Regions from separate parts of the Homo sapiens genome. Here region 2 is linked to region 1. Evidence: promoter capture Hi-C in human tissues and cell types (Jung and others, 2019). All regions are on one chromosome and are shown on one strand. Each heading gives the region's core, a stretch centred on a gene start or on the middle of the fragment in contact. The rest is flanking DNA. Distances are from core to core; before and after follow the strand shown. Region 1 holds the start of ISL1 (ISL LIM homeobox 1). Region 2 has its middle 44 kb from the start of ISL1.

The links. The method cuts DNA at HindIII sites, captures the fragments that hold promoters and counts their contacts. A contact is called where the count stands out against the background at its distance.
Region 2: a contact is called between a fragment that was not itself captured here and the fragment with the promoter of ISL1 in region 1, in 1 of the 25 tissues and cell types used here (adrenal gland).

Annotation. Positions count from the first base shown.
Region 1 is chr5:51,379,792-51,384,937 of GRCh38, reverse strand. It overlaps ISL1 (ISL LIM homeobox 1), which reads right to left and starts at 1,490. Exons shown (of 6, transcript NM_002202.3): 1 at 1,239-1,490; 2 at 208-397. The coding sequence starts at 1,266. It overlaps ISL1-DT (ISL1 divergent transcript), which reads left to right and starts at 1,606. Exons shown (of 2, transcript NR_046243.1): 1 at 1,606-1,964. The HindIII fragment of the contact is 8,696 bases long and covers 1-3,256 here.
Region 2 is chr5:51,425,401-51,430,336 of GRCh38, reverse strand. It overlaps the pseudogene LOC105379196. Among named protein-coding and RNA genes, the nearest start is that of ISL1, 44 kb to the right of the region's middle. The HindIII fragment of the contact is 4,377 bases long and covers 377-4,753 here.

The DNA.
Region 1 (5,146 bases), core at 241-2,740:
CTGTTAAGGGTTTTTGTTTTTCTCAACTAAAGAATGAAATGAACAGCATAGCTTGATTTTTTTAACACATGTACAGGGTAACTTTGGCTTGTATGACTACACTGAGGCAAACTTCACAAAAAGACAAAGCCACACCAAATAATACATAAAGAGTGGGGAGATTCAGGGAAATCCCACAAAATTAAGAAAGAAGTGTAAATGCCATACCTGATATAATCTCTTTTACAGTAGGTTTTCCCATCCCTAACAAAGCATGTACAGCTCTCGTCCAAATACTGATTACACTCCGCACATTTCAAACATGCCGCATGCCATTCCAAATCCGGAGAAACCCTCAGAATATACTGATCGTGAATCTGATTGCCGCAACCAACACATAGGGAAATCAGACGTTTTTCTGAAATGAAAATAAATACATGATTGACTAACCGTTTACTTCCTACAGAGATAAACACACTTTTAGTGTCGTTCTCTTATAGGGCGTACTCTGGGAGGTTTTTTTCTTTCTTTCTTTCTTTCTTTTTTTTTTTTTTTAGAGCATTGCACTTTGGGATGGTAATTGAAATGTGCCATCAAAACCTTGACTCATTTTTAAAAGGAGGTGGAATATATGTAAAATGCAGATTGGAATAGTCTACATTTGTACGCCTAGCACGCAATCAAACCCGCTCATTTTGTATTTCTCCCCCCCCCCTTCCTCTTTGCTATAATCATTGGGAAAGATTATGGATAAGTCAAGTCAAAGAAAAGGTTTTGACTAGAAGCGTTAAGTGAACGCAGGGATGTCTATATTTTCCGTGAAGCGCGCTCTTAAATAGCACACAGGACTGGATATTGTTAGCAAGAGCAGGCATAAATACAGTTGTCACTCGTTCTCTTTTGCAAGTCTAATGCTAATTCACATCTCTGGGCATTGACTGTGCAGGCAGACCTTTGCAACATAATAACCTTCTCGGAGAGCTCAGGATTCCCCAGGAGGAAATCACCGCTTAGCACCAGAAAGCTAGAGCTTTGGAGGGCACACAGGCGAATTCACACACAAGGTACAATCAGTTTCCCGAAGATAAGAACCGACAGTAAGCATGCAGGCGTGGCGGCAACAAGAAAAAGCCACCTTTTCTCTTTCTCCAGGCAATGACTCCAACTCCAAAGAGCCCTTGGCACCTCAGCCTGTGCCTGAGAGAGAACCCCGCACAAGAACAGCACACCGAGCCCCACAAGGTAAAATAGCCTCTTACTTTTTGGTGGATCTCCCATGTCTCCCATATCTGTAAGAGGGAGTAATGTCCACAGTGAAATGGTGGTTGTACAGTTGGTGAACAGCCCACAGAGAGGATGCTGGAGCTGTGGCTAAGTGGGAAATATTGGCCCCTGGGGTTGCCAATGCTGAAAGAGCCGCTGCTCGGCTGCGCCGCGCCCTCGCGGATCTAGGAGTCCAATTTAAGCCGGCGGAGTTGGCGGAGCGGAGGCGCTGCGGCGGCGGCAGACTCGGCGCGGCTCGGGCACCTCTCTTCCTTATCTCTTACTCAAACTTCTCTGCTCCAACTCAGCTCCATCGCCATTGGTCTGACGCAGCGCGCGGGGACGTCAGGCGAGCGCCGCGCCCATTGGCTGCAGGGCGCGCGGCGCAGCTGTTCTGATTATCATATTTCAGCCTCGCCGCCGCTGAGCGCCACTGACCGCTCGGCGAGCCAGCGGGAGAGGATTAGGGCTCCCGAGGCAACTTGCTCGGGGCTCAGGCCGTTCTCCCCCGAAGCTCGGGCTGCCGGGCTGTTCTGGCTCTGGCCTCCCTCTCCTCCTCTTCCTCTTCCTTCTGTCCCCTCCCGCGTTCCTTCCCGGCCGCGCCGCCTGCGCCCTCGCCTCCTGTGGCGCTGCTCCTCCGCCCTGCGCTCCTGGGGTCCCCGCAGTCCGGCTGGCCGCGTTGCGCGCGGGGCTCACTTTCTGCCGCCGGTGGCGAGTGGCTGGTGGGTAGGTCTACCTGTTGACGAGGTCCCTCCCGGGCTCTAGGAAAAGGGGGGAACTTGGAGCAGGCCGTTCAGCTTGGTTTGGTCCCCACGCCGTGGTGCACATCCCCGGGGCCTGGCCTGCCTTGGCTGCTCCGGAGGGCTAGTTCCTCCAGAACTGGCTGCGCTCGGCGCGCTAGGGGAAGAAGAATCGGGAATGGGATGATTAAACCCAGAGGAACTGTTTCCTGACTGCTACACCATTACTCCGTCTCCCCCAACCTCAGATATCTAAAAACGTTGGGTGGGAGGAAAGGGGCGCTTCTTGCTGTTGGGACAATCAGGTTGGAACGCACCGGTAAACCGAAGTTGACTCCGCGGACTGACTTTTTGTCTTTCAGACCCGCGAGGTCTGCTTCTCAGTTTAACTCTAGAATTGAAGCTCACTAACCCGAAGCCAAAGAGCGAAATGATCTTTCAGTAGTCTAAAGTTTGTAAGATTTTTATATACTGTTCAATTCTTCTCACTGCTGGTCTCCTGCCCTTTGTTTTTAAGCAAACTTGTGCAACTAGCTGTGGTATTTTGGTAATTATAAGGACAAGTCTCCATGACTTTGTGGAGATTTTTTAAAAATGCATTAGTCTAAGGGCGCGAGTAGGGAGGGATTTATTACAGAACAGTGAAAGACCTATTTCACGTCCCCAGGCGTTAATATATAATTTTCTCTCGAGAAACTACTTGGAGAGAGAAGACTGTTAGGTGCAACTCGCCGGTAACCTTCTTCAATCATTCTTACATGTTCCCATCATCTGTTACGGTCTCCCAAAGACAGTCACAGGAAGGCCACGAAGAACCCCCGCGCTTCCCCCAAAGCTTCTAAAAAGCCATTTCTTATCTAATGGGGCTGCCAGTTTTATCTAAAAAGTCCTACAGACACAAACCATAGAAGGCTTAATTTCGGTGTCTTGTTGCTGTGAGAAGACCCGGTGTGTTAGGAAACTCCTTTCTTTATATCTTTCGCAAAATCTAACCCTTGATAAGAGCTGTAAATCCTGGCCGGCCGCATTGGCTGGGCTTGAACGGGTAATGCCTCTCCAAAGCGGAAAGGGAATCAAAGATGCGTAAGTTTCCTCCTGACCTAGCTGAGGCTTTCTTCCCCAGGAACTAGTTTTGATTTGTTTTTTCTCAAGGAGGATTTCAAATTGGATCTGTCTTCCCTTCCATTTTTATTATAAGTTGTTTTAGAGCGCGTGTATGAAAGCGAAAGTTGGATAGACCTAGGTTGATAAGTTTACCAGTTGTGTGGTGTGTGTTTTTTTTTTTTTTTTTTTTTGGTCTGTTTCTAGTCTCTGGTATTAGATGTATGGAGCCTTTTGTCAGGCTGCTTTTGCAAAGCTGATGCTGTTAATCTCAATACGAAGCAAATCTTCCTAGTATTTGTGTGTGTTTCCCATAGAGATAAACATGTTGACCCTAGTAAAAAAAAAAAAAAAAAAAGATACCACCACAATGCCAGAAAATAGAGTTTTACCTAGTCATATTCCATCATGCCACTTTTATAAGATGGAATTAAACACCAGAAGCCACCAGAAGCCTGATGACTTACATTTGAGATCCACAAAGCACCCTCACTATCCATCCTCCTTCAAACCAGCCCCCACCTCCCACCCACAGTGTGGTATTTTAACTCCCTAAACCAATAAGCTATTACAAAGAATTATTGCAGATGATAGCACTTCCAAGTAGAAAAGCTTGCATGCGGCTTGGGGGAAACCTTTAGTAATAGACAATTTCACCTTAATGGTGAAGACAACATTTTCCTCTTTTCATTCTGCACCATTGTTGTAAACAAGTATTTTCTTAATAAGTTCCTAAACTGATAGAAGCAAGACGCATGGTGAAGATACCAGCATTAAAAGGAGACGTTTGAGGGACCCCACCATGATGGACATGCTCTGAAGTTCAGTGCATGTATCATGACACATTTTGCATTAAAATCCAAGTTAGAATAGCAGGCTTTGTAGTTTTACTTTACCTTGAAGTTCTAAATTGATCATGGATTATTATGATTTCCTCAGCTGATTGCTGTATGTGGATTTAGTGCATCAAATATATCTGTAAAATTTTGTATACATAAAACTGATGAGCAATTTATCCGTAATACTTGATCACAGGAGCGACCTCTTGTGTTCAAAGCGGGGATTAGACCCTCTCCTCTCAAAAAAGGACTCGTTTTGACCTTTGTATATTGTTAGGTCAAAAATATATCCTTGAAAACGGCAATAGTGTGAATCTCTGGTTTGATTCCTTTACTGAGAAAATGAGGAGTATGAGTAGTTATTAAGTGTAGTCCCCATCACCTCCAGGCTGCCTCAATATATCTGACAGTGTCTTTCAATATAAAAGGGATACTGAAATTTAAGTTCCTCTGGAGTCTGTGGCATCTGCCCATGTGCCCTTGTATACACCTTCCAAAATGTGGCTGTTACACCCAACCTCCTGATGGGCTCTTAGACTTGTGTTTTTGTGTACTGTTGCTTTCTCTGCTTTAGTTACCATTTAAACATTCCACATCAAACTTAATGTCAGATACAGATTCCTGCACAAACATCATGCTCTCAAGCTACATTTCAAAAATCTAAATAGGTTTTAATTGCAATTGAAAGGTAAAATTACACATTTAGCATTTATTTATCTCCCAATAACCTCTGGCAGATATAAATGAATTTTAAGTTGTTTCTTTGGGAAATCACAAACAGTAAGACAGCTTATTCCTTCTCATCTAACCAAGACTGGGAAGGGAAGAGGGGCTTTGATCAGCTTTCCAATGGAGGTATAAATTTGAGAATTTATTCCCAGGGAGATGATGCTATATGTTTAGCTCACATCAGAATCAGGTTTGAAAGAGTAGAATAAGTTACACTGCCAGTTTTACTGAGTAAGGTATTCAGATGAAAAAATATGTATAACTGAAGGATTTATATTTTCTGATGTCCACATCATATAATTTGGGGGCCAAAATGAAACAGGAAGATTTTATTTACCTCTAAAAATGGATATTGAGTAGATGCGTATGTATCCCCTTTCCCGTTTTTATCTTTTCTGTGTAGTCTCTAATGATGTAGAATAAGGCTATATAAATCCTCAGTATCTTTAATCATGTCCAAGGGTCAGATAAAATTATGTGCGTTTAAAGGGAGTT
Region 2 (4,936 bases), core at 1,316-3,815, 44 kb before region 1:
AAATTAGTACATTTCTAGAAGGCAATTTGACAATATAGATCAAAGGCTTTACAACTATACATATACTTTAATTCAGCAACTACACATCTGGAAAAGATTCCAAGAAAGTAGGAACAGCACTTTGCAGAAATTTATGTATAAAGATGTTCCAACAATAAGAAACAGGTCGAGTAAATCAATGGCTAATCAGTGTGTGGAATACTATGTAATTATTAAAAATGATGAAAATCTATACACATAAGTAGGGAGGAAACAATGCAAACAGTATTTAAAGCTGTTGCAACTGGGTGCCACTGTCACCCTGAAAAGGCAGAACAGAGTTCTGGGCACACCATGAGCCCAGTAAATGCTGCCTTAACTAGCAGTAACTCTAAACAGAAAGCCTTTGCTCAGTAATCCTACATCAAGGTTTGTCTCTGCAAGGATACCAAGGCAACTTCTTAGGAGGAGTTGTGCAAAGATCTGATTGATCTGAAGGATTTAGAGCATGAACAGAGCAAGAGCTTTGTACTTTCAGAAGACCACTTTTTTTTCCCCCATTATCATCATTGGAGATCAACACATGGAGATGCACAGAGCTTGGTATCAGGCCCCATTGAAAAGAACCATCAAGCCTTCATTCACCAGAAGAATGTACTTCAGCAGCATGTTGTGTTATTAGAAAATTCATTATCAGAAGTAGTAGTAATATTGCAAGTAAACTAAAGTAGCCTAAGACAGCAGAGCAGGGTGAAGCGTAATCAGTATTATAATACTTAAAAATTGTCAATCAAGATAAATTGCTATCCCTTTGATGAAAATGTTTCCCTTTCAGGCAGTTATTATCCAATTCTTGGTACTTTGTGAAGTGACACTGTTATCCATATATGCATGTAAATGTATATATATATAATTTAATTTTTCATGTACTTAATACCTTTGAAGAGTTAAACAAAAGATTAAAGTAGTGATTTGTGTGAGCTAAAGAGGACATTAAGAACGATGGTTCTGCAGTTTTATATGAACATGGATTTGATAGTGAGATGGCAGACAAAATAGATGCCTCAGAAGATGTTGCAAGCCCCAAAAAGCTTTATTTACAGAGAACTCAATTTTTTTAAAAGAGAAAAACTCACTTGGAAAGAGCATATGGTTATTTGGTGACTTACAGTCACCAGAGTTTCCCCTTAACTCCTTTCCCCTGACCTGTCCTTCTCTGTTAGACAGTTCAGATAAAGCCAACTTCATTTGATAAATATGTGTTCTGAGATATGCTAATTAATGCAATTTTTGTCAATATGGGTACATTTTTCTCATTGTAATTTCCGATTGATCTTCCTTTTGGCAGAGGTTCCTAAACTAGAATTTTATATTTCTTAGTAACCACTCTGTCAAGGAGGTATAATTTAATACACTTTAGGAAAATGGAGAATCTTATTGTGATAAGAAGAAAATCCTTTATTTATCTGTGTTTTCAATATATCATAACAAATCTTCTAAAAACCTATTTGAGGTCGAGTGCGGTGGCTCACGCCTATAATCCCAGCATTTTGGGAGGCGGAGGTGGGCGGATCACCTGAGGTCAGGAGTTTGAGACCAGTCTGGCCACCATGGTGAAACAACGTCTCTGCTAAAAATAAAAATAAAAAAAAGTAGCTGAGCGTGGTGGCACACGCCTGTAATCCCAGCTACTCGGGAGGCTGAGACAGGAGAATTGCTTGAACCCAGGAGGCAGAGGTTGCAGTGAGCCGACATCGGGCCACTGCACTCCAGCCTGGGCAACAGAGCGAAACTCTGTCAAAAAAAAAAAAACCAACAACAACAAACAAACAACAACAAGAAAAAACAACAACAAAAAACTCCTATTTGAGTAGGGCACAGACCACAGAGGTACAGTTTGCTTTTTGATCTTGGGTGCCTTTTGCAAGCCGTGAGAGTAACTTTTATCTACATTACTACGTGAGTCACAAGGACAAATTCGACCATGAGTTCCTGGAGATTGAATTCCAACCAGACAAGAAACTGAGATGTGCCAACAACAGTAATTACAAGGATAATGTCATCATCAGAAAAGAGGCTTACATATATAAAAATATGATGGAGGAACTGAAGAGAATAATTAATGGCAGTGAAATTACCAAATAGTATGACGCTCTGTGGCCTCCGCCTCACCAGGAGGAGCTTGAAATCGTCATTGGACATGAACACGTTTCTTTTATAACATCTAAAATTGGTTCCCTTATTGATGTTAAGCAATCCAAGGATCCAGAAGGCTTAAGAATATTTTGTTATCTGGTTCATGACCAGGAAGTATCTGGTCTTCATTGTTACTGAATTACACTTCAAGATTAAGCCAATCTAGATTAAACATTGATGTGGACGCAAAGAAGGTGGATATAGCTGTTTTTAATCAACATTATCAGAAAATTTTTGTGTACATCAGAATAATATTTTTCATAAACTATAAATGATTGTGTCTAATAAATAGTGACAAAAATAACAAGTAAACTTAAAAACCTATTTGTAATCCTAATGGCCTCAAAGGTCATTTCTGAAGATACTGTAAAATACATGTTATTTCAAATAAATAAAATCTGTCTATTTAACTTTGATATATCACTAACAAGTATTGGAATATATTCTAAATTCCATGGCAAAAAGAATTCACAAAAAATTCAGGCTCCAACAATCATTAATATTCTCAATAGACTAATTACTGTGTGGTCCAAGTATATAGCACAGATGACTGAGGTCTTCTGCTGGAAGAATGCTATACCAGTACGGGCTAGTATACAATTCTTTTTGCTTTTTATTGATTTTATTTAAGGAATTTGTATATTTTCTTCCTTCCAAAGAGCAACCTTTATTCTTCATTGGAATCCTTGTAAATTAAAAGCAAAAAAAAAATATTTGTTTTATATCTGGAGAACAAATGGATGTTCCTCCTTCAGCCTCAGACAGAGTGATTGATAGCTTTGTTATCAAATTCTGAATGAAATAAATTTGTCTCACTTTGAGAGTAAATAGTGATAATCTCTGCCAACCAACTTGGATGTAACTCATTGCATTTCTATTGGCCAATGAATGTACCAGGAAATGGGCTTGAAAAAATGACATTTAAGTAGTACTTAAATAGTAATATAGACTATTTCGTTCATCTGGATAGTTTTCATTTCATTATTTACATGTACTGTTCTTCTATTATTTTTGCCATTCATTCTCTTATTAGAAGATTGGAAAGCTGAAATCTATTTGGTAGTGTTTATTCACAAATAGATATGTAGTAGGAGAATATATAGCATAGGGGTTAAATATGGCCCTAGAGTCTGGAAAGTCTGAATTAATATCTGTAGTAGACTATATTATTGTTCAGGGTGCTCCCTGCTACTCTCTGGGGAAAGATCCAACTACTCCACCCTATGATAGCATGATTAGCCTTGATCTCGCTAATGAAGTGTGAGCAAGTGACATTTTTCACTTCGGGGTAGAATGTTTAAGAGCCAGTGCACCATGGTTTATCAGGATGTCTTCTTATCTTTGTCATATACCTGAAAATATTTTAGATAAAACATTAATTCTGTGAGCTTGGGTTCCCTAGTGAAGAGATCATGAAGCAAAATGATAGCCAGTGTGCCATAAACATGGAATAGGGGTAAGGAATGAACCCCAGTGATTGTAAACCACTGAGAAGTGGGAGAGTGTTTGTTAACTGCTAAATAACCAAGTCTCAGTCCCCACTAGTTATGTAACCTTATGAGCAGGCTTACCACCCCTTTGGCTTAATTTCCTCATTTTCAAAATGGAGATAATCTAAACTAGATAATTTAGGTAAAACAGCACAGTGCCTACTATGTAATAAATACCTAGTAAATGATGGCTTGTATTATTGCTATTGTTAATACTGCCAGGAATTTCAGTAAATACTATAGATTATATGATTATCTCATGGAGTTTGAAGTTTGATAGGGGTCCTGTAAACCAATTCCTATAGCAATGAGATAAATGTCTCAAGACGATGAAGAGGTGCTTCCAAATCAGAAGCATTTAGCTTTAACAGGTTATCTGCAAAGTCTCCCTGAATGTATGACATTTGAGTTAAGAAGTAATGGGTAAGATTTTTCCAGGCAAACAAGAAGCATAAAGGCATTCTAGGTGGAAGGGCCAGCATTTACAACAAAAAAAAATGCATGGCCCCTTTTAAGAATTCCAAGCACTTTGTAACTCCAAGAAGGCTGGGTATGTGAGCTAAAGGGTTGAATCTTTATCCTCTAGATGACACAGCCCCATTGAAGGGTTTTAAGTCCAAGTGTGGCACCGTATCATACCACAGGTCAAGATGGAAAGAGTTATGCCATGTAAAGTAGACCCCCACAGCACCTTTTATACATAAGTACACTGCTAAAGTTTAAAATATGTTTCTCTTTATTCGAGCAAAATGGAGGTGGGCCACCTAACTCTAACATGGATTGGGTGGTCTGACTTGGTGAAAAGGGAACGCTAGGCCTCTTTGCACCACATAAGTTGCCCATTTAGGCCTCTTATAACTATATTAGTTGCTCATTTTTCCTGCCTTGGCCTTGGTTTCATGAAATTACTCTTTGAAAATATGTATGGATTCTACAATACTATGATAGAAGAAATATATATGTAATATTCACTAGCTTTTTACAATGAGTGGTTGTGGCTATCTAATGATTTAAGGTAGAAATCCCATAATGTTCAGAACATTTTTGAACACTTCAAATTAATAGTATACTTTCATAAAGGACAATTAATAACTTTGACAAATTAGAATAAAATTAAAAATGAATAAATAGTACTTTTTAGATTTTGTATTTAAGAATTTTGATTTGAAATTTTAAATATTAAGACATTTATAGTTTTTTAAATTATTAATTCTTATTAGAAATAAGATTCCATCTATTTTGAGTGAGCCTAAGATTCTCTGATACTGACC